4 separate regions of the Homo sapiens genome follow, and regions 1, 3 and 4 are each linked to region 2. The links are contacts of gene promoters, found by promoter capture Hi-C in blood cells and fetal thymus (Javierre and others, 2016). All regions are on one chromosome and are shown on one strand. Each heading gives the region's core, a stretch centred on a gene start or on the middle of the fragment in contact. The rest is flanking DNA. Distances are from core to core; before and after follow the strand shown. Region 1 holds the start of CCDC110 (coiled-coil domain containing 110). Region 2 holds the start of ING2 (inhibitor of growth family member 2). Region 3 overlaps CFAP97 (cilia and flagella associated protein 97). Region 4 overlaps CASP3 (caspase 3).

What was found. The method cuts DNA at HindIII sites, captures the fragments that hold promoters and counts their contacts. A CHiCAGO score of 5 or more calls a contact.
Region 1: the fragment with the promoter of CCDC110 here is called in contact with the fragment with the promoter of ING2 in region 2 in 4 of 17 cell types (total CD4 T cells, non-activated CD4 T cells, naive CD4 T cells and 1 more); the score reaches 10.0 in total CD4 T cells.
Region 3: a fragment that was not itself captured here is called in contact with the fragment with the promoter of ING2 in region 2 in 2 of 17 cell types (total B cells and total CD8 T cells); the score reaches 5.6 in total B cells.
Region 4: a contact is called between a fragment that was not itself captured here and the fragment with the promoter of ING2 in region 2, in 1 of 17 cell types (naive CD8 T cells). The highest score is 5.7, in naive CD8 T cells.

The regions. Positions count from the first base shown.
Region 1 is chr4:185,468,935-185,475,365 of GRCh38, reverse strand. It overlaps CCDC110 (coiled-coil domain containing 110), which reads left to right and starts at 3,633. Exons shown (of 7, transcript NM_152775.4): 1 at 3,633-3,692; 2 at 4,317-4,421. The coding sequence starts at 3,683. It overlaps LOC105377590 (a long non-coding RNA gene), which reads right to left and starts at 3,935. Exons shown (of 2, transcript NR_133944.1): 1 at 3,606-3,935; 2 at 3,103-3,251. RefSeq lists a silencer at 3,419-4,048. The HindIII fragment of the contact is 5,122 bases long and covers 131-5,252 here.
Region 2 is chr4:183,499,290-183,506,307 of GRCh38, reverse strand. It overlaps ING2 (inhibitor of growth family member 2), which reads right to left and starts at 1,250. Exons shown (of 2, transcript NM_001564.4): 1 at 941-1,250. The coding sequence starts at 1,112. It overlaps ING2-DT (ING2 divergent transcript), which reads left to right and starts at 1,793. Exons shown (of 3, transcript NR_033995.2): 1 at 1,793-2,132. RefSeq lists silencers at 189-908, 1,129-2,168. The HindIII fragment of the contact is 10,965 bases long and covers 1-7,018 here.
Region 3 is chr4:185,181,104-185,187,648 of GRCh38, reverse strand. The region is part of intron 2 of CFAP97 (cilia and flagella associated protein 97); the gene reads left to right. Among named protein-coding and RNA genes, the nearest start is that of CFAP97, 20 kb to the left of the region's middle. The HindIII fragment of the contact is 974 bases long and covers 2,803-3,776 here.
Region 4 is chr4:184,642,311-184,648,819 of GRCh38, reverse strand. CASP3 (caspase 3) reads left to right here. Exons shown (of 8, transcript NM_004346.4): 2 at 189-355. Among named protein-coding and RNA genes, the nearest start is that of CASP3, 3.9 kb to the left of the region's middle. RefSeq lists enhancers at 3,824-4,455, 4,757-5,334, 5,335-5,913. The HindIII fragment of the contact is 2,145 bases long and covers 1,303-3,447 here.

The sequences.
Region 1 (6,431 bases), core at 2,384-4,883, 2.0 Mb before region 2:
GCCTCAGCCTCCCAAAGTGCTGGGATCACAGGCGTGAGCTACCGTGCCCGGCCGAGAAATTTTCATTTTATAGGCCATCTAAACACGCACTCACTGAGATGCCCAAACAATTTTTTTATTTTTAGAAGCTTGGCAAGTTCATCAAAGTTCACACACAATATAAACTAGACAACACATTCTACTATCTCTTTAAAATATACATTTTTTCTAATATTTGAGCTACAATAATTGAATCTTTTTCCACTGAAGTGTCAAGTTTTTTCAAAGAAGAACCACAGGAAAAAAAAATTTCAAAAGTGTTTATGGAATCCCACCCTAGACGGGGCTCTAGACCTGCCATTCACTGTCAGCCCCGTATGTGACCACTCTGCTTTCTCCTGGAGTAGGCCCTTCACCTGGGATTTCACTCATCCTCACTACTGGCTCACAGTTGTACAGATAAGGAAACTCCTTTTCAGAGAGGCCCATCATTCGGTCAGCCACGGAGTTCAAAATGCAGGTAGTTTCAAGCGCAGGTGAAAATGGTTTTAAGTGGCCATGGGTGATCAAATAAGATTTCTCCCTCAACATACATTTCACACTGCAGTGAATGTCCCTAAAGGGCTGTGACCACCTCCCACCCCCATTTTTTTAGAGACATGTCAATGCTCTAATTACCACTTCCAGATTCTCCCACCTCGAATACCAGGGTTGGCGCACGCAATGTTCATGTGAGGCCCTTCACGAGGGGGTTCATCTGAGAGGGTGATATTCAAATCATAGGCATCTTTATTATTGAAAACAGTTTTTAAAATATTATAACTGTTGGCTCCAAAGACAGCCTTTTTACATATTAATTGCAATAATTTTCTGACAAAATTTTTGTTTTAACTGAGAATATATATGTGATGTGCTTTACAAAAGAGAAATGAGTGTGATAATCAAAAGGCCTTATAGGACATCTAAAATAAAGTGTCCTTCTAACTAAAGAGCTGCTTTTCTGACTGATGAATGGATTAGGAAGTAGCTTAAAATGGAAGTAACTCTCTATTGAGATTAGTGCACTGGCTAAATCTGAGTTTGATGTTGTAGCATCTATCACCTGCTTTTTATATTCTACACTAAATGGTATGACTGAGTGCTCCCACAAAAATCCACAAGTAATTTCTATGTAATAACCGATATTAATTTGTCATCATAGTCCACAAATATTACATAGACAAATTAGAGTTATTACACATTATTACATAAATTATCAAATGATTAGATATTAATAATTAGCATTACATAAAATACAATATAGTAATTAATTGTGGAAACTTCAGTAGTATAAAAACAGACTTGCTAAAATGTAGTGGCTTTTTGTCATTCACCCTTTGAAGGAATGCAATTTATTTACAGTAGTAATTTCACAAACATATTGCTGAAAACTTGTGTAGCTCTCAGGAAAAAAATTAACTTTATCAATGAAGCAGCCTCATTGTGTGGGCTGACACCAAGGTTTGCTGTCTCACAGGGAGATCAAGGATGCAGACACACAAAGAGTGAGGTTAAGAGCCGAAATGTAATAGGCGACAAGAAAGGGAATAAGCTCTCCGCTACAGAAAGGGGTCCCCGGGTTGCCAATTCGCTGTGAAATATTTTTTATAGAATTTTATAGATGAGCTAATGGGGAGGCAGTCTGATCTACATAGGGCGTGAAAAACCAGTTAGGACCAGGTGTGCCATCTGCATAGGGCATGAATCTCTGGCAGCCCCCACCCCAATCTTTTACTACGCAGGTGGGTTCTCTGACTGAGCTTTTCCATATCGCCCATCTCTTTCTTACTGTACACGTGCTAACAAAAAAGGGGAGATGGAGATTCCATGGTGGACATGCCTGGCCCCCAGGTAGCCCTTTTCTATCAGCGCAGCTGCTGGCATCCACCCGCACGCTGCCCCCCAACCCCCTGCGCCCTGGTGTGCACGCTTCCAGCTTCCTGATCTATCTTTGCAAGGTTTGCAGGCTTTCAGGCTGCTCTTTGTTAGAAAAAAAAATGATTTCTTGAGCTGTTTTTTGTTAGAAGTTCTGCTGAAGACTCTTTTGCCCTATCTGCCTAAATAATTTCTATCTCCTGAATCATCAATATCAATCAGCAATGCAGACCATAAATTCTCAAAATTATAATTTATTAAAATTGTCTACAATGCCACAAGAAAGTCAAATCTTCTAGAGCCCATTTTTTTCTTTCTTTCTTTCTTTTTTTTTTTTTTTTTTTTGAGACAGAGTGTCGCTCTGTGGCCCAGGCTGGAGTGCAGTTGCACTATGTCGACTCACTGCAGCCTCTGCCTCCTGGGTTCAAGTGATTCTCCTGCCTCAGCCTCCCGAGTAGCTGGGATTACGAATGTACTCCACCATACCTGGCTAATTTTGGTATTTTTAGTAGAGACAAGGTTTCACCATGTTGGTCAGGCTGGTCTCGGACTCCTGACCTCAGGTGATCCACCCGCCTCGGCCTCCCAAAGTGCTGGGATTACAGGTGTGAGCCATCATGCCGGACCTAGAGCCCATTTCTTTTCTTTTTTTTTTTTTTGTTTGTTTTTTTTTGTTTTTTTGAGACGGAGTCTGGCTCTGTTGCCCAGGCTGGAGCACAGTGGCGCCATCTCGGCTCACTGCAACCTCCGCCTCCTGGGTTCAAGCGATTCTCCTGCCTCAGCCTCCTGAGTAGCTGAGATTACAGGCGCGTGCACTAGAGCCCATTTCTATAAGAAACAAATTAGAGGAAGTAAGCACTGAAACTATCATAAGAAGTTTCATTTCAATGAAAGCAAGCCATCATGTATTACTTATTATATATTATATGTTATTATATAGCAAATTATGATATCCTGGTGATTGTGATTTTGAATTTTAATTTTCTATGTGTGATGGTTTACTACAAAATAAATAATATATACTCGTTTAAAACTTTAAAGAGCACCATTTTCTGATGGGCAGGAGGATTAGCTGGGGGCACGCACCCAGTCCTTGGTTAAAGGAGGTCAGGTTTCCCGTGAACGCAACATCAATCCTGCACGTGATACACCAGGTGCGTAAAAATTAACATGCTTAGACAAAGGAAGCCCACCGTCGCTTCCCACAGCTTTCATGAGCATATTTTAATACATGTTTAGGTTAATTCATTATTGAAAAATAGGAGTCTTCTTTTCATTGCAGCAAACAAAAGTCCTTTCACAATATTGGTCATGGGCCGTTCAAATCCCCAAATGCTGAAACTCCTCTGAGGGATGCGCTGAAATGAGAGGACTAAGAATTAAAAAAAAAAAACAACAGCGATGAAGTGGAGATGTGGAAAGGCAAAGGGAAAGCTCTCAGGCGTGTGTCCGTCCCCGGGCGGTCCCTTTCTCCGCACCGCTTTGGTCCGGCGGGTACCGCAGCGAGTCCGAGTGTGAGCAAGCCCGTCCCGGACAGCCGCGCGCGTGTGCGGGGAGGCGCCCAGGTGGGCTGTCCCAGGCCAGGTTCCCAGGGAAGCTCTCGGGGAAGCGTCCGGAGTGAGGAGGGACCCACCGGGACCCCACCAGGGACCCCAGCCGAGCGCGCGCCGCCGAGGGTGGGGGTGGGGCCGGCGCCCCGGCCACCCGGTTACCTGGCGACAGGATGCCCTGCGCGGGGCGGCGGAGCGGGTGCGTGCGGCGGCGGTTGCGAGAGAGATGAGCCGCGGCGATGAGCCCGGGTAAGAGTTGGACGGGGCGGGGCTCCTAGGGGAGCCGCGGGAACGGAGGGCAGCAGAAGGGCATTCAGCAGGCGGCTCCCCGCTCGAAAACCCGGGACATCCCGGGTCCGCCCTTCTGCACTCGCCGCACATCTCCCGCTCGGCCCTAGGGCTGAGCACCCGCTGCGGCCCCCTGCGTCCGCTGTGGCTTACAGGCTGGCTACGTGGTCTGCCGCCGCCGCCCGCCCAGCGCGCCCTCGGGTGGCCGCTTGCGGAAAGCGCCGCGCCCCGCCCCAGGCCCGGCCTGATGCCGTCCCTCCGCCCCATCCCTCCGCCCCGCCCCAGCCTTCAGCCTTGACCCCGCCCCATTCCTCTGCCCCCACAGGTCCCGCCCAGTCTCTCCGCCCCATCCCATCCCTGCGCCCCGCCCCAGCCTTCAAACCCGCCCCCTCCTAATTCCCTCCGCCCCGCCCTCCCCGCCCTCCCCGCCCCCCCGCCCCAGCCTTCAGCCCCGCCCCCTCCTAATTCCCTCCGCCCCGCCCCAGCCGTTAGCCCTGCCCCGCCCCATCCCTCTGCCCCGCCCCCACCTTCAGCCCCGCCACGCCACGACCCGCGACAGAACAGCCCCGGACGGTTCTGTTACAGAAAAGCAGCACCGGGAAGAGGATGAAGTTGACTCCGTTCTCCTTTCAGCGTCCAAGATCCTAAATTCTTCGGAGGGGGTGAAGGAAAGTGGCTGCAGTGACACAGGTAAAATCGCCAGACCGTAAAAGGCTCCTTTAACTATACACAGGCGGCAGCATCTGGCCTGTGCCACCTGCTCACCTGGCGTGCTTCCCACGGCCGTGATGACACGGACAGCAGCCACCACGGCACTCGCGCTTTGTGCCAGTGCTGTTCTAAGCACGTAATGGATCAACTGTTTAATTCTCACAACACTTTTACGAGGTGGGTGCTACCACGATCCCCATTTTGCAGATAAGGAAACGGGCACAGAGAGGTTAACTCCCTAAGGTCACACAGGCAGCGAGGAATGGAGCGGGCATTCAGCAGGGCGGCTCCGGACTGCCTGTCTTCACCACCACGCTACGCTCCGTTGCTTCTCTGAATGCTAAGTAAGAATTGTTGAGTTTTTTGGACACACACTAAAACGATATGCAGTCAGCCCTCGGTATCTGGGAGTTCCGCATCCTTGGATTCAACCAACCACAGATGGAAAATATTCAGGGGGGAAAATTTTTAAAAATAACAGTACCACAATTTTTAAATGCAAATTTTGAACAGTATAACAGCCATTTACATAGCATTTACATTGTATAAGGTATTACAAGTAATCGAGAGATGATTTAAAGTATACAGCAGGATACACATAGAAGCTATGCAAATACTACCCCATTTTGTATTAGGGACTTGGGCATCTGCAGATTTTGCTATCCGCAGAGGCTCTGGAACCAATCCCCTGTGGATATCCAGGGAGGGGTGTATACCTTTTCTAAAGAAAACTACTTTTTATAGTAAATATTTACGGACTACAGGATATTATATGGGGAGGATGTTTGAAATAGCCACATAGCTAAAGCTTTCAAGCACCACATAAATTATGAATAAGATGGGGGTACCCAGCTAGGGGAATCTGAGGACATTGAAGGTGGAGTCCCAGGCGACTGACTACACGCCTCTCAGAGGAGCCTGCTGTGAGGGGACATGCCGGGGAAGGAGCAGAGCACGGGGCAGGAGAAGGGTCTAGACTGATGTGCCATGCCCGGACCCCCAGTTGCCCCTCTGTAGGATATGGGCAATCCTGATGCCAAAGTGCTGAACCACAAGAGGACTGAGGTTGGGACAGGATTTCTGCACCTCCACCATGCAAGATCTTCACAAAAAGCCTTGTCAGGGCCCGGAAAGAAGAGACTAGAGCAGCCACACCTCAGTAGACAGAAGACACCCGGGTGCCCAGGCACTACCAGGATGAGCAACACCCCAGTGGAGGCCAGCAGGACAGGCACTGGCCAGTCCCCTCTCCGCCCTCCTGCCTCCACCCTTGAGATATGCAGGTTTCCCTGGGCAACCAGGAGGGGCAAAGGGGCCCCCTGAACGAAGGAGAAAGAGTCCTCACAGAGAGTTGAGACATTGAGGTAGCTCCGTATTTACCTCAAAGAGAGCATGTAAGGTCAGAAGAAATAGAAGTACCTTAATTTGGCAAGATCACATGTTTTTTGACATGAATGAGGCTTAGGGTTCTGGAGAAAGATGCCAACATTTATAGAAAATAGTTACATGCAAAATAGCACATGTACATGTTTAAGAGTTACAGTCTTTCTTGCCAGAACACAGTGTTTACAGGTCTGGGGTTGACACAGGACAGGTTCTTAATAAACACCAGTTATCTTGAGTCAGGGGCCACCCAGGAATTTCCTGCCTGCAACTATAGGCAAAACTAGGAGGTATGGCTGGCGCCCTTCTCTCTACTCTCCTACTGATGCTTTCATTGTCACCAAGTGATCCATTCCCCGTGTACTGAGAAAATAATGACCTGATTTGCATAACTACTGCCAGGTTACAAAGAGTTATAGAATGTTCCCAAGGTGTCTCTGATTTCAGAACTAGTGGTTAACCTAATTAACCCTTATTGGAATGGGTTTGTGAGAGACTTTTGAATTTGAGGGTGTCCAGGGTGTTGTTCCCAGCACCCTGTTGTACCCGAGCTTTCATTCATTCATTCGTTTGTGGAGCATATTCTTTTGAGCACCTGCTAAGTTT
Region 2 (7,018 bases), core at 1-2,500:
ATCCGCGACGGTCCGAGCTGCTGATCGCCGTCCTGATCCATTGACTGGGAAAGAGGTTGGAAACATCACCGCAAAACATGCTGCAAACCCCGATTCGGACTCCGCTGGGGCCGAACCAACGCCCCCGCACAGCCCCGACTCCCTCCCCAGCAGCCAGCTCGCCACCGCCCCTCTCGCGACCAGCCATTTTCCAGGCCCGCGGGAACGCGCGCCGCGCCCCTCCCACGCCCCTCGTCAAGCCCGCAGGCCCCGCCCCCGGCGCGGGGGCCCTCCCCGCCACACACGCCCCTCTCTTCCTCTCCCGCGGGGGACCCCTCCCCTCTTAACCATTTTGCCGAAAGAACTGGGCTAGGGCTACAACGCGGGGCGCCCGCGAACTTTCCCGGGGCGAGAGAGCGGAACGGACTGCTCTCCTCCGGGCCGGGGCAGGAGCGCGGAGGAAGGCCCCCTCAGTCCGCCTCCGCGGCCTCTCGCCCCCTCCCCCCGCACGTTCCAAAGCACCCGCACTCCGGGGTGGGGGCGAGTGAGGTGGGGAAGCGCGCCCCGCAGACCAGCGGGAGCCCGGCCGCTCACTCCCTCCGACCCTTGCCCGGCTGCAGTCCCGGGCCGGGGCCGCAGGGTCTGCGGCACGGGGCGGGCCAGCGCCTGAACAAATGCTTGCTGCTTAAAATGGCTGATTCCCCTCAGCGGCAGCTGCAGCCGCTGGGTCTGCAGCGGGGGCTGACAAGCGGCCCCCACCCCCACTCTGGGGACCCCAGAGAAGTACTCGCCCACCGCGGGGCCACGGAGGGCCGCCAACCCGGTCTCCAGTCCTCCCAGTCCCGCTCGGCAGACCCTCGGTGCGCTCGGGGAGACTGTCACGGGAGAAAGGGAAGGTGGCACTCCCCCGGACAGGCTCCCCGCCACCGGCTCCCGAGGCCGGCAGCCCCGCGGCTCCTACCTTGATATTTGTTGTCCAGCTCTCGCAGCACAGACACGTTCCTCTGCATGTCGTGGGGCAGCGACTCCACGCACTCAAGGTAGTCCTGCACGTAGCAGGTGAGCAGCCGGCTCCGCTCCCCGGTCAGGAGCGCGGCCGACGAGTACAGTTGCTGCTGCTGCTGCCCTAACATCCTGCCGATCCGCGCCGTCGCCGCCGCCTCCGCATCCAGCAGCCGCACATGCACCGGCCGCGGCCGCCGCGGGCCCTCAGCTCAGCAGCCCGGCGCCGCGGGGACCCCGCAGCCGCTCGAGAGGGCACGGCCGCGCTCCCCGATCTCCACTCCCCCCAGAGCAGCCCTCACTCCCCGCCCCCGCAGCACCAGCCCAGGGGCGGGGCGAAACCGGGGCTCCCTCCTTTCTCCCCTCCCGCTCCAGGACCGGAGCAGTGGGGATCCCCTCGGCGGGGCCGGCGCCGGGGTCCCGGGCGCTGACACTTCCTGTCCCCCTCGGAGTCCCCAGATGCTACGAGTGCCGTCTCGCAGCCCGGATCCCCATGACAAGCCCGTCGCCGCCCGCCTGTCCCCAGTCACCCTCCGTGCCTCACGGAGAGCCTCCCGCTAGCCTGCCCCCGCCCCTCCGCCCGCGGCCGCCTCTGCGCCTGCGCAGCGCTCCCTGCGAATAAGGCCGGGGCCCGCCCCTACCGCCTACCGGAGGGTTCGCATTCTCCCGCCTTCGCTCCGCCGCCCGGGCGATTGGTCTGCCGGCTCTGGGCTAGCGGGGGAGGGTGTGGGGGGCGGCCAAACGGCAGGCCGCGCCCCGCCCCCCTTAAAGGGGAAGCCCGGGGAGCCAGTCTCTGCGCCTCGCGTCTGAATGGGACCCGGGAGGGGAGGCGGCTCGGTCCTTCGTGCCGTCCTCCCCGCTGGGAGGGGCAGCTCCAGCTCCGCTCGGCTCGCTCCGCCCGGCCACACCGGCTTTTTCCCCATCAGGCGGTCCGAGTGCGGCTCCTCGCGAGCCTGCAAAGGAGCAGCAGGCGGTTCCTTTTCGGACGACCTGGAGCGAGGCCTGCGGGACTGCGCGCCCCGGCGGGCGGCGTGCGGCTCCCGGCATGCGCGGCGGCTGCGTTCCCGCCGCCTCCGAGCTCGCCTGGGGCTGCCGCCCGCCTCCTGCCGGGCCCTCGGGCTCGCCCGGCACCGCGGGGCTTGATCAGGGAGGTAGGCGGTGCTCCCTCCGGCCCCCGGCGTCGTGTGCCCTGCGGGTTTCGTGGCCCTTCCCCTACGCTGGAATCTTCTGTGTCATTTAGGGGGAGGGGATGCGGGACGGCATCTGTTTGACAACGCATTGGTCCCACAGACAGCCTTTAAAAACAACTGCTTTTGGGGGGTGTCAGAACATTTAAGCACAGGACGTCGGTGAGGCTTCCTGGCGGAGTGGGGCACACGCCAGCTTTACGGGACTTTTTGCTCAGTCCTGCCCCAGGACTGCAATCGGAGGGGACCTGGGGCATGGAGGAGACGCGAGTGAAAACCTAGTCAGCGGGCGGGCCCTCGGCCCCATAATCTACGTGATCTCCTAGTGGGGTTTAATTTCGGTGTAGTGTAAATGAGATGTCAGGCAGAGGAGCTGATTTTAATTACAGATGGACATTTTTGAAAGAAATGGGTGCAAATAGAATGAATGCATGGATAATTTTAATGGAATGCCTATGTAAACAAGGCCAATTGTGAGTACTACCTTTGAGTTAAAATGTGAGTGAGTGGTGACAAATTTGGATCTTCTTAGATCCAGTTTGCAGCGTTGGTACACCTGAATGGTGACCTATTTAGAGCACTTTTGAAACAGCTGTTAATAGTAACTAGCCTTTGACTTGCAAAGAGAAATCTAGATCTTTATCTAGAGGAAATTTTAAATTTCAAACCAAAATAAAGCACTCCAGGCAATTTGACATCTTGGGACGTCAACTATTTCAAAGGACTGGGAAATTGTCTTGGGTTATTATCCTAGGACACTGAGGTTTGGGCCAGTATTAAGCAACCCAGACAGTACAGTGGATAGTATTTCTGAGAACATTCTGGGATTTTACTGTTCGTGAAATCTTTCGGCCGGGTCTTGTCAAAAAACCGCCACTGTGAAGAACTGAATTTTACTGGTTTTTACTTGAACCCTGCTATTTTTGTTTTCTCACAAGTTTGAATAAGCTGGTCTTTATCAAAGGCGCAAAATAATGTGGGGTGCCTTGTTACAGGTCAGACACCGAATGTACCTATGGATTTTATTCAGTCTGATAAGTGATCTGCAAGTAGATAAGAAATGTGTTTAGAAACTAGAAGGGGAAAAAGGCAAAGATGCAGAATACCTAGAGTACTCCAGAAACAGAGCAAGATGAGAGGAGGGATGAGCATGGGATAGGAGACATTTATAGCATTATTGTCACCTTTTATAATTCTGTTGAACAGGCTGGTAAAAAAGCAAAAACAATCCAAAGAATATTTTAGCTGGTACTGATCTAAAACTGTAAAACACTGTAATATGATAATATATGTATATGTATGAATTATTTTAGGCATGCTTTTCTTGCTATATTTATTTTAAGAGATTAATCTACGGCTTATTCTTGCCACCCCCAAAAAAAATCGCCACAAACCCTAAACCCAACTCTTGACCTTGGTTATTGAGCGCTGTCCTTCCCTTCTGAGTGGTCACTTAACTGGAAATATGGGGCCTCTTCAGATTGAATTTCTTGTCTTCTAAATGCAAAATTTAAAATCTCCCGTTCTCAGCAACTAGAAATTAATTTATGGTATTTAATCCTGTGAATAAAGCAAAAAGGCATTTTATTTGCTCTACAGTGTATTATCTACCATAAAGCAACCCTAAAAAAAAGATAAGTAACTGATCTCCCCAAATTAGTCTGGGATTACCTTGAATTTCTAAGTCTGACTTTAAGAGGTCCCTGGCAGGAAATGTGTACGCCTCCGTACCTGTCTCTTGGGGAGAGCAACAACTTCAAACTGGTTGAAAACAAACTGGCAAGTAATGGTGAAAGATTCCTAAAGATGCCTGCTGAGAAAATTCAGCTTCTGTTTGAGTCAGATCAAATAAATGAAATCCTTTTCTTTTTTCTACTTTTTAATATTTTTAAACTTTTATGGAAATTTTCAAAGGCAAAAGTAATACTACAATAAATCCTTATATACCGTCTACCCAGCTTCAACATTTAGCAACATATGGCTAAGATTATTTAATCTATAGCCCTTCACATTCCCTCACTCTTGCTGGATTTTTATCATTTTATCTGTAAATACTTTAAATATGAATAATATGAATAGGTAAAATATAATAGTTGTTTTTTGTTTGTTTGTTTTTGAGACTGAGACTTGCTTTTGTCGCCCAGGCTGGAGTGCAATGGGGCGATCTTGGCTCTTTGCAACCTCCGCCTCCCAGGTTCAAGCGATTCTCCTGCTTCAGCCTCCCAAGTAGCTGAGATTACAGGTATGTGTCACCATGCCCAGCTAATTTTTGTATTTTTAGTAGAGAGGGGGTTTCACCATGTTGGTTAAAGCTGGTGTGGAACTCCTGACCTCCAGAGATCCGCCCGCCTTGGCCTGCCAAAGTGCTGGGATTACAGACGTGAGCCACCATGCCTGGCCAAGATAACAGTTTTTTAAGCATATCCGTAATACCATGTATTCTGCCTCCCCAAATTTTCTTACTATCATTTAATAACTACACAATTCAAATTTTCCTATTGTCTCAGTAAATCTTTCACATTTGGTTTAACAGGATCCAGCAAATCCCATGCATTTTATTTGGTTACTGAGGTCTTTTCCAAACCAGTAAGAGGCAGTTAATTCCCTGTTTAATTCAGTGAAGCAGAGAGCAATGTTTTTCTGAGGAAGATATTTAAGTAGTTTAAAATCACTGCTTTAAATATGGAGAAATTCAAGAAGAAATCCTCATATGAAAAGTCACCAATTGATAGCGTGTTGTAAGAAATGTAATTGTACCTGATGCAAATAAATAAATCCTTAGTAATCTAGGAGGCTGTGTTAGAGTGTAATTTGTTCTAGAAGGTCCAGTGAAGCATCTTAAATTATAGTGAAAAACCCTAAAACTTTAAATCAATTCATTAGTACAAAAAGCAACTAAAGAAAAACCTAATAGTCCTGTAATCCCAGCACTTTGGGAGGCCGAGGCGGGCGGATCACGAGGTCAGGAGATCAAGACCATCCTGGCTAACACGGTGAAACCCCGTCTCTACTAAAAATGCAAAAAATCAGCTGGGCGTAGTGGCGGGCACCTGTAGTCCCAGCTACTGGGGAGGCTGAGGCAGGAGAATGGCATGAACCCGGGAGGCGGAGGTTGCAGTGAGCGGAGATCATGCCACTGCACTCCAGCCTGGGCGACAAAGCGAGACTCCGTCTCAAAGAAAAAAAAAAAACAAAACCTAATGGTGTGCGTCTCCACTGAACTCAGTTTTAAAGCATTAAAGCATTTTTTATTACTTTATTACATAAGTAATACACATTATTGTAGAAAAAATTTAAATAGAAATAAAAAGATATATAAAAGTCACTACAAACTGGAGATAACTCTTCTCAATATCTAAATATACTCCAAGATGTAATTCCATTTTAGCAGTTCTTTTGCTTTAAGAAAACACTTTGGCTAGGATTGAAGTACAAAGTTAGGCCAGGTGTGGTGGCTCATGCCTGTAATCCCAGCACTTTGCCACGAGGTGGGCAGATCACCTGAGGCCAGGAGTTCGAGACCAGCCTGACCAATATGATGAAACCCCATCTCTACTAAAAATACAAAAATTAGCCGGGCGTGGTGGCATGTGCCTGTAATCCCAGATACTCAGAGGCTGAGACAGGAGAATCGCTTGAACCCGGAAGGCAGAGATTGCAGTGAGCCAAGATGGTGCCATTGCACTCTCCAGCCTGGGCAGCAAGAGCAAAACTCTGTCTCATTTAAAAAAAAAAAAAAAAAAAAAAAAGGACAAAGTTAAGAAAATATCAGATTCTGTAGAAGGAATATTAGAAATCTGAGCAATATCACCCTGTACTTGGAGTTTATGTGTTAGACTGCACAGATTTAACTGGTGTATACAGTCAATCCTACTGCTTTAGATTATAGTACTATTCAGCATTTAGGATGACTACTAAAAGCAAAATATGATCCTAAAACGTTTTAACGAAGGGACCGTGTGAATGACTGGGATTGTAGTGAAGAGGAAATTCGGTATAATAAGATCTCATATTTTCATAAACAAGAAAAAAGGCAAACGTAATATCCCCTTAGCTATCCCAAAGAGAAAAAATAGCACATATGGTATACTTTGCATATTGCTGACCAGAAAAACATTCAATTTTCCCTGGTTAGTTACCATAGTTACATGAGCCCTTTATAACATCAAGAGGGGGAACTAGGTCACAGTTTTGAAGGAGTTTGAATTATGCAATTATGTTTTCTAAAAGCAGGGGAAAGGGTTTTTAATTTAGAGAAGAGAGATTTATACTCTGTTCAAAATTGAAATTTTGGTCTAATTTTGCTGGCAAAGCCTAAAAATTTGTCCAAAATTTAATAGTTGATATAGTACATATAAATTATTCAACCTATACAAATAACATAATAGCTAGATCCATAAAAATGACATATTCTGTCTTTGTAGATATCCCTTTTTCTCAATGAGCTGTTATCCAAAAATGTTTTTGCAGGTAATCAGGAAACCCAACAATTGCCTAGCGTCTGAGAGTAGCCAAACCATGTGTAAACTAAAGCCTTGAACTCTTCCGGTCTTTGAAAGTGTGAGGTAAAGGTTGGCACAGTGCCTGTCAGATGCTACTCTTTGTTGTACAGCAATTTTCCTATTGATTTCATCAAATGGAAGTGAGTGGCAGGAAGGGAATGTATTGAAAGTTGTGGTGGCACAGCCTTCACCCTTTATATATATTATTATTATAATTATTTTTACTAAGAACCTTACAAAAAAGATGTTTTTATTTAAAAAAAAAAAAAAAGGCCGGCCTTGTGGCTCACCTGTAACCCCAGACTCTGGGTGGCCAAGGTAGGAGGATCACTTGAGAACAGGAACGTG
Region 3 (6,545 bases), core at 2,040-4,539, 1.7 Mb before region 2:
GTTGTTGCCGCTCCTGTTGTAAGGACACTCCGGGTTTTTTCCCGTTGGTGAGGCACTTGCATTGCTGTGGCCCTTTTTCTTTGCAGAGGGCTCTGCTTCTCCCTGTTTCTCAAGTCTCTGCCAGGGAGAGCCTTTTTCTAGACATCTATCTTTGGGAGCTTTACACTCCCCATGCCTCTCTGTGTCGCAAAAGCTTGTTTCTCTCCATCGGGATACTTACTAGACTCTGAAATTAGTTAGTTTGCTTGTGTGTCCCATTGCAGTGAATGAAGGCAGGATCTTATTTCTTGTTGGAATTTCCAAATACAGGCACATAATAGACAGTATTTGTAGACTGAAGGGACTGTCAGGAAACTGCTTCTGTTGCACAGCTGTGCTGGTTAGGAAACATATTTCATATGTTCATGGAAATTTCATTTTATAACAGTTGCCCATTCCTGTTAAAACTTGCCATCTGAAATACATAGAATAAGTCTGTGCATCCTTCTGCATTATAATCTTTAAGACATTTGATTAATATTCTCCCCTGGGTAAAATCTCCAATTTTTAATCAAGCCATCTGGGGTAACAATTTTCTTGTAATTCTTTTTTCTTATAATTCTTATGGCCACTTTCCAGTCTGTGTGTTCATTAGTTAAGCTAGAGCATACGATTCGCTAGGTGGATGATTTATTGGGTTGACAGACAGCAGGCTGCAGCTCTCTCCTGCTCTTCTGGATTTCCAGCACCAACCTCAAGTGCTCTAACACAACGATTTTTAAACATTTTGGTCTTAGGACACTTTTACATTCATAAAAGTTATTGAGGATTCTGAAGAGCTTTTGTTTATATAGGTTATAGCTTATATCTGTAAATATTTACCATATTAGAAATTACACATTTTTAAAATATTGATTTGTTTAATAGTAGTAATAAACTCATTATGTAGTTGCCATATAATGTAAGTAATGTATGTCATGAAAAAGGTGTATATCCAAAAAAATTAGTGATTTTTGCTAATCACTAGCATCTGGTTTAATAGAATGTAGCTGGATTCTCAAATCAGCTTCTGCTTATAATCTATTATAATCTATATATCATTGGCTAAAGGATGTATAGAAAATATGCCATATGCAAAATGTTCAAAAATGAAGGAGTATTTTAATAACCTTTTCAGTTACTTGTGGATTTTTTTATACCACAAGTCGTATTTTCTTTTCTGTTGTTGTTGTTTTTTGAGACAGAGTCTCACTCTGTTGCCCAGGCTGCAGTGCAGTGGCGCGAGCTTGGCTCACTGCAACCTCTGCCTCCCGGGTTCAAGCAATTCTCCCACCTCAGCCTCCTGAGTAGCTGGGATTACAGGCGCCCTCCACCACGCCTGGCTAATTTTTGTATTTTTAGTAGAGACGGGGTTTCACCATGTTGGTCAGGCTGGTCTGGAACTCCTGACCTCAGGTGATCCACCTGCTTCGGCCTCTCAAAGTGCTGGGATTACAGGTGTGTACCACCTCGCCTGGCCCACAAGTAATAGTTTCTTAGATGTTAGTTGCAATGTGAAATCTGAAATTAATCTCAGTTAACTTTTAATCGTGAATTTCAAGTCTGTTATGTTAAAACATATTGATCTTTCTTGATTGATTTTTAATGTATATTTTACCTATGCCTGGTTTTGGAATGTGACATATTGGGTATTTGGAAAATATTGTTTCACTGAGCTTACAAATGTTGGCAGGCCAGGTACAGTGGCTACGCCTGTCATCCCAGCACTTTGGGAGGCAGACGTAGGCAGATCACTTGAGCCCAGGAGTTTGAGACCAGCCTGGGCAACATGGTGAAACCCTGTCTCTACAAAAAATACAAAAATTAGCTAGGCATGGTGGTGTGTGCTACTGTAGTCCCAGCTGCGGGGGGAGGTTGAGATAGGAGGATCTCTTGAGCCAGGGAGTTGGAGGTTGCAGTGAACTGAGATCACGCCACTCCATTCCAACCTAGGAGACAGAGTAAGACCCTGTCTCAAAAAAAAAAAAAAAAAAAAAGGTTGGCAAATTTCAGAATACATTATATAGAAATCATAGTTGTTAATATCACTACCAGCCTCATCAGAAAGCTCTTGAGAAGCTGTCAAACTCATGGTGGCAGATACAAGTTTACCTAAAATACTATTTTTTGCTAAAAAGCTCAAATTTTATTATTGGTAATAAATACTGTCAACTGTTTTCCTTGAAGTGACAGAATTGTTCTTTAAAATTATATTTGTAATGCAAAAATTGGATGGTGGTTGAAATTAAATCATAAAATATCATGAGATAATGCAGATTGCTCACTAATATTGTGTAATAACATATATCTTGATATATTTGCCTTTTTTCTTGTGCATCAAATTTCTATTGCTGCATTGCTCTTCGTTCATAATTCTTACTGTGATTTGTATGTGTTGAACCCATTTCCTGTTCAGAAAAAAAAAAGTACAGCTCACTGCCAGCACTCATTTCTTGGGGCAAATGGGAAACGTGTTAAAAAGTTGCAGCCTATTGTTTGGCATTAAAAAGTATTGTTCTTATAAAATTAGGTTAAAAATGGGTTGAAAAGAGAAATGTTCTAGAAGATAAATTAAAATGTTCAATATGTCTAGTGGGCTTTATTTTTTAAATATGGGCTTGTTTGACTAAATCATAATTTTTATTTTTAAGGGGACACTTCCGTTTTTTAAAATCTTGTAAGTACTATTTGTTCCCACAAATTATAAACCCCACTGTATCCTAGGAAAGAGGATTAAAAAACGAGCATACAAAAGGAAGGTATTGTTTCAGCCAATAAAAAGCTTCTTACAGGAAGAAAACACTCAACTCTTAGAATTGTCAAGTTTTTAAAAACCATCTAATAGAAAATAGTCTGATTTCTGGGCTTTTTGTTCAGAGTCATCAGTGATTATCCAGGATTTTGAATACAAGAAGGGAATTCCGAATGAAACAATATTTCTCATATAACAGGTCACCCAAAGACACGCTAGACTTCAGGGTTGATTGAGTGGCTCAAAACTTCATCAGGGACCTACTTTCTAGCACTGTGTTCCTCCAGCCCTGGTGTTGGCTTCGTTCTTAGGCTGCTAGGAGATGTCTGCAGCCGTTTTCAGTGTTCACCTTCAGACACAACAGTGTCCAGAGGAAGAGACAGTGTCTCTTCTCTGACTCTTGGAATGGAGGAAACTTCTTAAAGAAATTTGGCCCAGTCAACATCCACATAGGTCTCCTTGCCCAGAACTGGTTACGCTCCCATTCCCGAACCAGTCGTTGGTAGGGGAAATGGGATTATCCTGGGCCAAGCAGGCTCACCCTGGAAGTCAGGGATCTGTGAAGTAGGAGGAAAATAGATATACAGTAATTGGGCAGCCAACTTTGTCCAAGAGAGCTTCTCAAACTTCAGTATGCATACGGTTAACCCAGGGATACTGTTAAAATGCAGATTTGGGTTCAGTAAAACTAAGGTAAGAGCTAAATCGGCATTTCTAATCAGCCCCTACTGGTGATACCCGTGCTGCAGATCTAGGGACCATGGTCTGAATATCAAGACACTGAGTAAACTATTTGGTTCCATTGAAAATAAAGCATTCTTCACTCTTCCTGTCTAACCCATTTCTGAAACTTAATTAGATATAGAGAACCTAAATATTTTTAACTTTTAAATAAGAAAAATAATCCTACCCCAAACTCCTGAACAGTTCCCCAATTATAATTAAATTGAAATACTGTTAAAAAGCATTTAACACAGATGCTGAGCTAAAATGTAGAAGGGAAGCTTTATTCATAGTACTGCATAGTAAAGAACCCCTGATAGAAGAGATTTGCCAGTAGGTGGCGCTCAGGGCTTTTTAAGGCGCAGGAACAAACATGGCATTTTGCCAGTTGGTACATCTGTTATTGGAGTCCATAATATAACAATCCACCAAGGATTCTTCATAATAATAAAGCATTTTAAACACTAATTAGGACTGTCAGTCTATTATATAAGGTATTGCAATCATTTTTCAAAATTATCATTCATGCTCGATTTACACAGTGAAGCATTTCAGATCCAAAATTATTTTCCTATGTTTTCTTTATTTTCCACCATATAACTGCAACTGTGGTCATGGTAGGTGGATATGAATGCAGAGCCAGGCTTGTGCCTTTTCTGCATTCATCTCTCAATACACTTTATCACTTCTAACTTACACTAAATAAGCTTTTCTAGGCTGCTTTGGCTTACCTAATTTCTTCACTGCCTTTTCTACTTCCTGGAACATAAATCCACTTAGTATGGGGAGGATGATGGTGAAGACAACATGTGAGCCCATCAGAGCACAGCTGAGGCAGGAATGCAGCATACTCTCTGCATCCTTTCAGTTTAAACATTTTCACGGACTTCAGTACAGAGGTTCGGTAAACCAGTTTACTGCTTAAGGTAGTGAATACTAAGTAAAAAATTTTGCAAGTTAACAGCCATATTAGGTGAGAGTTCAGATAATGAGGGATACCTGTATAGCCAACCACATCAACATTTTATTGGTTTAAAAGAACCTTTTTTTTTTTTTGAGACGGAGTCTTGCTCTGTCACCCAGGCTAGAATGCAGTGGCGCAATCTCAGCTTACTGCAGCCTCCACCTCCCGGGTTCAAGTGACTCTCCTGCCTCAGCCTCCCGAGTAGCTGGGATTACAGGCGGGCACCACCACGCCCAGCTAATTTTTGTATTTTTAGTAGAGACGGGGTTTCACCATGTTGGCCAGGCTGGTCGTGAACTCCTGACCTCAGATGATCCGCCCGTGTCAGCCTCCCAAAGTGCTGGGATTACAGGCATGAGCCACCACGCCCAGCCCGTTTGTTGTTTATGAAATAGAAATTTGAACTATAAAATATTAAGCCTATGAAACAAAGATTGATAAAAGAATGTAAAATTGAATCTACCAGTATAGGGCATGGAATGACGAGACAGTGTTGAACCAAGGTAAAGACAGTTTTGAAAGTGGAATAAAACTTAGGCTTCTGGGTGTTACCGACATGATCACAAACAAGACAGCAACTGTTCTGAGCTTCAGGCACTCTATTTGTAGGAGGAGATTGTTGATATAGGTTGCTAGGGTCCATTCTAACTTCAGAGTTCTTCGGGTTCTGTGAGAAATAGTGGAAGAAGGGAAGACCATTGCATAGTGGCAGTATTAGATACAGGACTTTGAAGTGGATCTTGAAAGATTAGTCGAATTTCTGAATATTCAACCTCTTTTAGCTCAAGGGTGGCTGACTTGGGGAATTTTCCACCTCCATGCAAAGCTGCCTTTGCTATGTAAATGTCAAAAAATGGTTGGAATTAGATCCTTCATCTTGACCTGTAAATCCCTGAATAGGCAGAGAGGGCATTAAAAAAATGGAGTAGTAAACAGAAGTTTAGACATCAAGTTATGGTATGAATCTCACCGATTTGGAGAGCATTGAAGACGTTGACCACACTAGATTTAAAGGTATGTTTCATATTTTGTATAGGTAAAATTAGGTCACTTTAAAAAGAATCTGAAACAGCAAAAATTTAAAATATTTTAGAAATACATGGCCTCAAAATCTACTATATAAACTATGAAATAATCACTACAGGATGTATTTTGAGAAGAAAAATAAATACAAGAAATGGGATTGAAGAAGCATTGATGAGCAAAGAAACTGGTTAAATTTTTTGCTAAAGTGATACCAACGTGTGAGGGATTGAAGTGAAGTGCCTTGTTCAAGGGAAGATACAGACCCTGTTATGCTCCATAAGAAAGGAGATGCCCATACTGAGATTAGCTACCAGCACGTCCTGCCTGGCAGCACATTTTATCCTTTCTTCCTGGCAAACTGCAGGAAATCTCAATGCCCTCAACACACTACCAAGTATTGCCAAACATTTAAGAAAAGCAAAAACCAACAGAGAGGCACCAGACTCATAGCTGAAGAATGTAATACTTCAAACTCTTAAAAGAGCAAGCTTGATGATTTTAGGATCTTTGAGGACAAAACTGTTTTCACTAAGACTATGCCGGCTGGGTGTGGTGGCTCATGCCTATAATCCCAGCACTTTGGGAGGCCGAGGCGGGCGGATCACCTGAGGTCGGGTGTTCGAGACCAGCCTGACCAACATGGAGAAACCCTGTCTCTACTAAAAATACAAAATTAGCCGTGCGTGGTGGCACATGCCTGTAATCCCAGCTACTCGGGAGGCTGAGGCAGGAGAATGGCTTGAACCTGGGAAGCGGAGATTGCAGTGAGCCAAGATCGCGCCATTGCATTCCAGCCTGGGCAACAAGAGCAAAACTCCGTCTCAAAAAAAAAAAAAAAAAAAAAAGTATGATTATGCCTTGATTTGCTTTTTATTTAATTAATTTTTTTTTATTTTTATTTTTTTTGAGACGGAGTCTCGCTCTGTTGCCCATGCTGGAGTGCAGTAGTGCAACCTCCGCCTTCCTGGTTCAAGCAATTCTCGTGCCTCAGCCTCCCCAGTAGCTGGGATTACAGGTGTGTGCCACCATGCCTGGCTAATTTTTGTATTTTTAGAGTATTTT
Region 4 (6,509 bases), core at 1,126-3,625, 1.1 Mb before region 2:
CTGGGGCGGCCGGGTGCTGACTGTGAGATACTCGCCCTGGGGGCTGATCCTTCCAATTTTGGACGAGGCTTCCGTCTCTGCTGCCTTCCATGCCTGGGGCCTGGATTATCCCGGGTTGACAATGTGGTTTAGCTCTTCCAGAGAGATAGTTGCAGGGTTTAAACTCCAATTCCTTTTCGGCCCTGCAGAGTTTCGTGAGTGCTCGCAGCTCATACCTGTGGCTGTGTATCCGTGGCCACAGCTGGTTGGCGTCGCCTTGAAATCCCAGGCCGTGAGGAGTTAGCGAGCCCTGCTCACACTCGGCGCTCTGGTTTTCGGTGGGTGTGCCCTGCACCTGCCTCTTCCCCCATTCTCAGTAAGTGGCACCCAAGCAGGAAACCGGAAAACATCGTTCGCAGCCCCCTCTCGCCCACCCACTTCTTTTCCTGCTTAGTCGCCAAGCCTTGTCGACCTTGTAAATGTCTGCCAGATCTGTCCGCGTCTCTCTATCTCTGATTTCAGCCGTCTGACCACAGCAGCCTCTTCCCTGGTCTCTCCACTTCCAGACCCGCCTGCTCCTTTGCAGTCCACTTTTTACAGCACAGGCAGAGGGATCTTTATGAAATGAAAGTCTAGAAAGCTCGTCCTTTGCCCTTAGGTTAAACCCAGCACTTAATATGGCTAACAAACCCCTGCGTGTGTTGGGTCCTGAGTGCCCCCACCCCTCCTTATCTTTAGCACCGGTTCGATTTCTGCACGGCAATGCTGACCTTCATACCTAGTGTCTGCCTGCAACACCTCTGCACTCCCTTTCTCCCGCCATCACATTTGATTAGAAGAGCTGCTACTTAAATTTCTGTTTTCATTAAACAGTTTAAGGTTAAATCTTCCTATGCTGTGTTCTTTCTGCAGCCAGCATTCCCTAAGAGAGATGTGTCATATCCTTTGCAGTTGCTTGTTTACTATCTTCCCTGCTAGATTTGCAAGCAAACTCCAGGAGGGACGGACTTGGTTTATCTTGGTATCCTTAGTGTCTTGCCCCAAATGCGGGGCCTGGCATAACACAGTGAATGCCCATCCATTGTATTTTTACTTTTATGCCCTATCTAGAAAAAGTAGACCTGGTTTAGGATTATTCAGCAAATAATAATTAGAAAAGAAATGGTAGAGGTGACATACGGAGTCACTGAAACGATGTAAACCTGCAAGATAGCTGAAAGAGGGCCAGGCAAGGTGGTTAGACCAGACTGTATCAAAATGGGCTCAGCCACTGTGAATGTGCGTGCTGTGGTTACATAATCTCTAAAAATGAAATATAAAGCTTAAATCATCTCTATCACAGCCCGATGCTTGGACTTTGGTTTTGCTTTGCCTTTTTGCAAAAGAAGGTTTTTGAAAGTGAAAATTATTTTAGTGAATGGATGAACAGTTTATTGGAGTATGGCAATAAAACCTGTTCAAAGTAAGAGACATTAGACATTGTACCTAGTTAAATCAGATTTGCTTTTGCTATCCTGAATAAAGGCCTTGCCTCTTGCCATTTGAAGAGACTGGCATCTGATATAGGCAATTATAATGCTTCTTTACTGTTTTGTTTTCAAACCTCGTTTAACACAATCTCCTACTGCTTCATCCCCCTACAAAGCAGTCTTTATTTTGATGAATGATATATTACATTGCTTCTGGTGCCTACTATTAGATCTTTAAGCTCTGCCCCAAAGATAAGAAGCACTGGTGTTTGGGCCTAAACAAAGATGGGAGAATTCTTAGATTTATATAATATTCTTTCTCTGCATGTTTTGTTCTTACCTTCACATGTTGCCTGTAGAGCTTCTTTGCATTACAATAATGAAATCAAGCTACCTGATATGTATTGGACACGGTCTGGCATCTGCCTTGTTGAGCCACTTTTGAATACCAGTGAGCATCGGTATAAGCCCTGAATAGAGATAGGGTTTGTCTCTTCCACTGCTTGATACACTCAGGGTCTAGTATAGTACTCTGCACACAGTTGGTGTTCAGTAAATTGTTATGGTGCAAATATCAAATGAATAAATGCTACTGAATCTGAGTTTTGGCAGTTTCAGTCTTCCTGACAGCAGGATTTCTTCAAGCGGTTTTAAACTTGAATCTGATTCTGCAAAGTAGTCATCCTTGGTGGGAGTGCTGAGGCTTTAAAGTCATCTGTAATTTTTATAAAAAGGCATCCGAGATCCTCCATTTTACACTTATATCATACAAATCATTTAGATCTGTGAAGGCTTTCCCATTTTCTCCTTTTGTCCTTCCAAAAACACCATCTTAGGACTTCACCTGGCACAGGGAAGACAGATCGTTTGCACATACTAAGTGCCCTTCTTTCTAACTTGTGTCATAAACTCAGAGGCTTTGAATAGTGGAGAGTGCTCTGTACTGTCTTCCTGGTCACGTGGCCCTTGCCAGAGGAAAGGAAAGGATGGTTTGTTTGTATAGTACAATGGAACTTATTTCAATGTATTCTGTATTTGATTTTACATTCCTGTTCTCATATTTTTACCTTAATTACATAACAAATATTAAAAGATTGACTTCACCAGGCCCAGTTACAATCGCCAGTTTGATAATTCTTATACGTACTCAAATGAATTCAGAGACCAGATGGGAAAAGATTTTGATAAAACCTCTGGTACATCACAACTGAAGTCTTTTCTTGTCCAAACTATTGTGAAACAGATGTTCTTTCTGTTTCATTTGCTAAATCTGGAAACGTGACTGCTTTTGAGACTTTGTCCTCTCTGACAGGTAATAAATATAATCCTGATATTTTTCAAGTTGTTTGACAGAAGTGTAATCTCCCCAGAAGTCCTGCTGGACAGGCTTCACTTTTCCTTTGGAGGAACACAGAGATACAGGGAATATGTTTTAATGACATATACCTAACGCTGAACATGAAACCAGTTATTTTACTTTTATTATTATTATTTTTAGAAACAGCCTTGCTGTGTCACCCAAGCTCAAGTGCAGTGGTGCGATCATAGCTCACTGCAGCCTCCAATTCCTATGCTCAAGTAATCCTCTTGCCTCAGCCTCCTGAGTAGCTGGGACTACAGGTGTGTGCCACCATGCCAGGCTACTTGTTTTTACTTTGTTATAGAGATGGGGTCTCTCTGTGTTGCCCAGACTGGTCTTGAACACATGATCTCAACCATTCCTCCCACCTTGGCCTCCCAAAGTGCTGGGATTACAGGCGCGAGCCACTGTGTCTGGCCTATTTCACTTTAGAAGTAAATTGAATGCCACATGCGAAGTTTGTTAAATTTTTTTAAAAAAGGAAAGAAAACACAAAAGTAAACTACCTAGTCGCATCAGAAATGCCATAGTCATTTTTGCCATTTTTTCATTCATTAGAATTCAGTGCATTATGTTATTTTGTTATCTCTGCAGTAACTTTCTATCATGTTATTTATTTTCTTTGTCTTATTTAAAGCTTCTGAGATTATGGATTTTTGTTTCCTTCCCTGAAGTTAAGTGTTATCATTCCTATATAGTACTAAGCTGTCTACAGAATAGTGGGAGTCTGCCCTCTTGAGTTGGGAAGATCCTAGTTTGAATCTTGGCTGTGCGACTTTAAAGTTCATTAACTTCTCTTAGCCTCAGTCACCTGAACTCTGCAGTGGGGATCCTTATGCCTCAGAGTGTCATTGGGAGGACTCACGAAAATACGCTTGTACTTTGAGTTCAGTACCTAGCCTGTATGAGCCAGCATTAAGAGGGACAGTCATCACGCAGCGCTTTGCACACAGCTCTCACGCCACATCCTTTGGCTACTGTTTTGGTAAATCTTTACTAGTAAATGTTTCTTAAAAGCATTTACATTCATGGACATGATTCAGAAACTAACAGTTGTTTTTTAGGTCTCACTTTGAGATTTAAAAACCCTTAGGGCAGAGACCAGATTTTATTTCTTACCTCAGAGTTTCCCTGTAGGACAGGAACCAGCAACAGCCTAATGAGCTGATTAAGAATTTTAGAGATTTAAAATTTAAATTAGGATTGCCAGTTTTAGAGACTGGCACATAAATGTTTTCATTTAAGGCAGTGACTGTTTCCTTTAGGATATGATTTTTTATCTTTCTAAGATGAGATCACCATCCTCAGAATAATTTGTACCCCGCTGGGCACTAGCTAATGGAGGTGATGTCATGCTAAGCAGCACTTCAGTGAGTTTTGCGGGAACCAAAGCTCTGCTCCCAGGAGTGTGGATTTGGTGCTTTCATGTGGAAAAAGCGGATGATGACAAGTAGAGAGCAAATGTGCGCATGTCTGATGCTGTAAGGATTTCCTTTACCATCATATAAATTTTTAAAGTATATCAAAATAAACTGATAACTGAGAAAATATATGTTGTTCAGATACTAATAATGAAGTTAATGAAGTCCACTATAGTATTTGTCCCTGAGAAATCTTTATCAAATATTTTAAATCCTATTGTAAAATAATGTATTTTTTCTTTCAGTTTTAGAGACTGGCAATCCTAATTTAACATCTCCTTTTGAATTCCCCACCACAGGCACACTTTCACACATTCACTCTTTAATAACAGGTTGTTTCAAATTGTTAATACTTTATAGCTTAATATAGAAATTTCACTTTAGAAATTAATTTTTATTTCTCTGCCTTAATGCTATAGATGTTGTAGTCTGCTTTACTTCAGTATTGTAATGAGTAGTTGGCTAACCACCATGTAAATAGGGAGAACATTCTAGTTTTTTACTTGTGTAGGAAAACACAGCTTGAAATGTCTAAGTATCTATTTTAGAGTGAAGTAAATTTATACTGACAATATTTTTTTGTGTTTGAAGACCTGACTGTTACAGCGTTGGTGGCAAGTGTTAAGGGATCCAGGAACTAGACAAGTGATTCTGAGACCTGAGTTCCAGGTTTCTAAGTAATATCAGTTGGTCTACTGAGAACTTTGCCATAAACATATGTGTTCAGAAATTTCCTTTCTTAGCAGCAGCATCCTGAATTGAACAGAATTACACACACATCAGCCCAGTAAGAAACAATTCATGTTAAGTCCATTGCTATGCCAGGATAAATCTTTTAAATCACAATTATTTTTCCTATTTATATTTTGTCAAATAAGAATGTTCTAAAAACCAAAATTTCTGTTTTCTTTTTTTTTTTTTTTTTTTTTTGAGACGGAGTCTCACTCTGTCGCCCAGGCTGGAGTGCAGTGGCGCGATCTCGGCTCACGGCAAGCTCCACCTCCCGGGTTCACGCCATTCTCCTGCCTCAGCCTCCTGAGTAGCTGGGACTACAGGCACCCACCACCACGCCTGGCTAATTTTTTATATTTTTAGTAGAGACGGGGTTTCACCGTGTTAGCCAGGATGGTCTTGATCTCCCGAACTTGTGATCCGCCCGCCTCGGCCTCCCAAAGTGCTGGGATTACAGGCAAAATTTCTGTTTTCATTTAAGGCAGTGACTATTTCCCTTAGGATGTGATTTTTTTATCCTTCTAAGATGAGATCACCATCCTCAGAATAATTTGTACCCTGCTGGGCACTAGCTAATGGAGGTGATGTCATGCTAAGCAGCACTTCAGTGAGTTTTGCGGGAACCAAAGCTCTGCTCCCAGGAGTGTGGATTTGGTGCTTTCATGTGGAAAAAGCGGATGATGACAAGTAGAGAGCAAATGTGCGCATGTCTGATGCTGTAAGGATTTCATCTACCATCATATAAATTTTTAGAAGTATATCAAAATAAACTGATAACTGAGGCAATGTATGTTGTTCAGATACTAATAATGAAGTTAATGAAGTCCACTATAGTATTTGTATAGTATTTGTATATTACAGTACTCTGAAAAGCTGGTCACTATTTAAAGTTTCCATTACCAGTCACAAGGAGAGAATAATTTTATCCCACAATTTTATTGCTGGCAAAAGACACAAGTTTATTAAAAGTCAGTATTTCAGTGTAAGAGTTACTAGACTGTTTGCAGAAGTGTTCAAAAGAGATCTTTAGGTCCTTGGTTGTCTGTGGAAGCTGATCAGCATTTAGGGGTTCCTGAGCACAGACTGTGAACCCTGCATTTGGCACATGCATTCAGAGAGCCAATTTGAGGCAGACTGGGGGCTAGAAAGGATACTGCCAGGAGCTCCAGGTTCAGCTTCCGAAGTTATTAAGTCTTATTTCCCAGTTTTTAAATTAGACTTCATTTTTTAGAGCAGTTTTAGGTTCAAACCAAAATTGAGAAGAACGTACAGAGACATCCTGTATCCCACCTGCCCCCCAACACGTGCGTAGTCTCCCCCATTATCAACATCCTGCACCAGAGTAGTACATTCTTACAAAGGAACCTACACTGACACGTCATCATCACCCAAACGCCATCGTTCACAATCAAGTTCACTCTTGGTGCTGTTTATCCTATGGTTTTGGACAAATTTACAAGGACTTGTATCCACCATTATATTGTCACACTGAGTAGTTTCACTGCCTTAAAAAGTCTCCGTGCGGGCCGGGCACGGTGGCTCACGCCT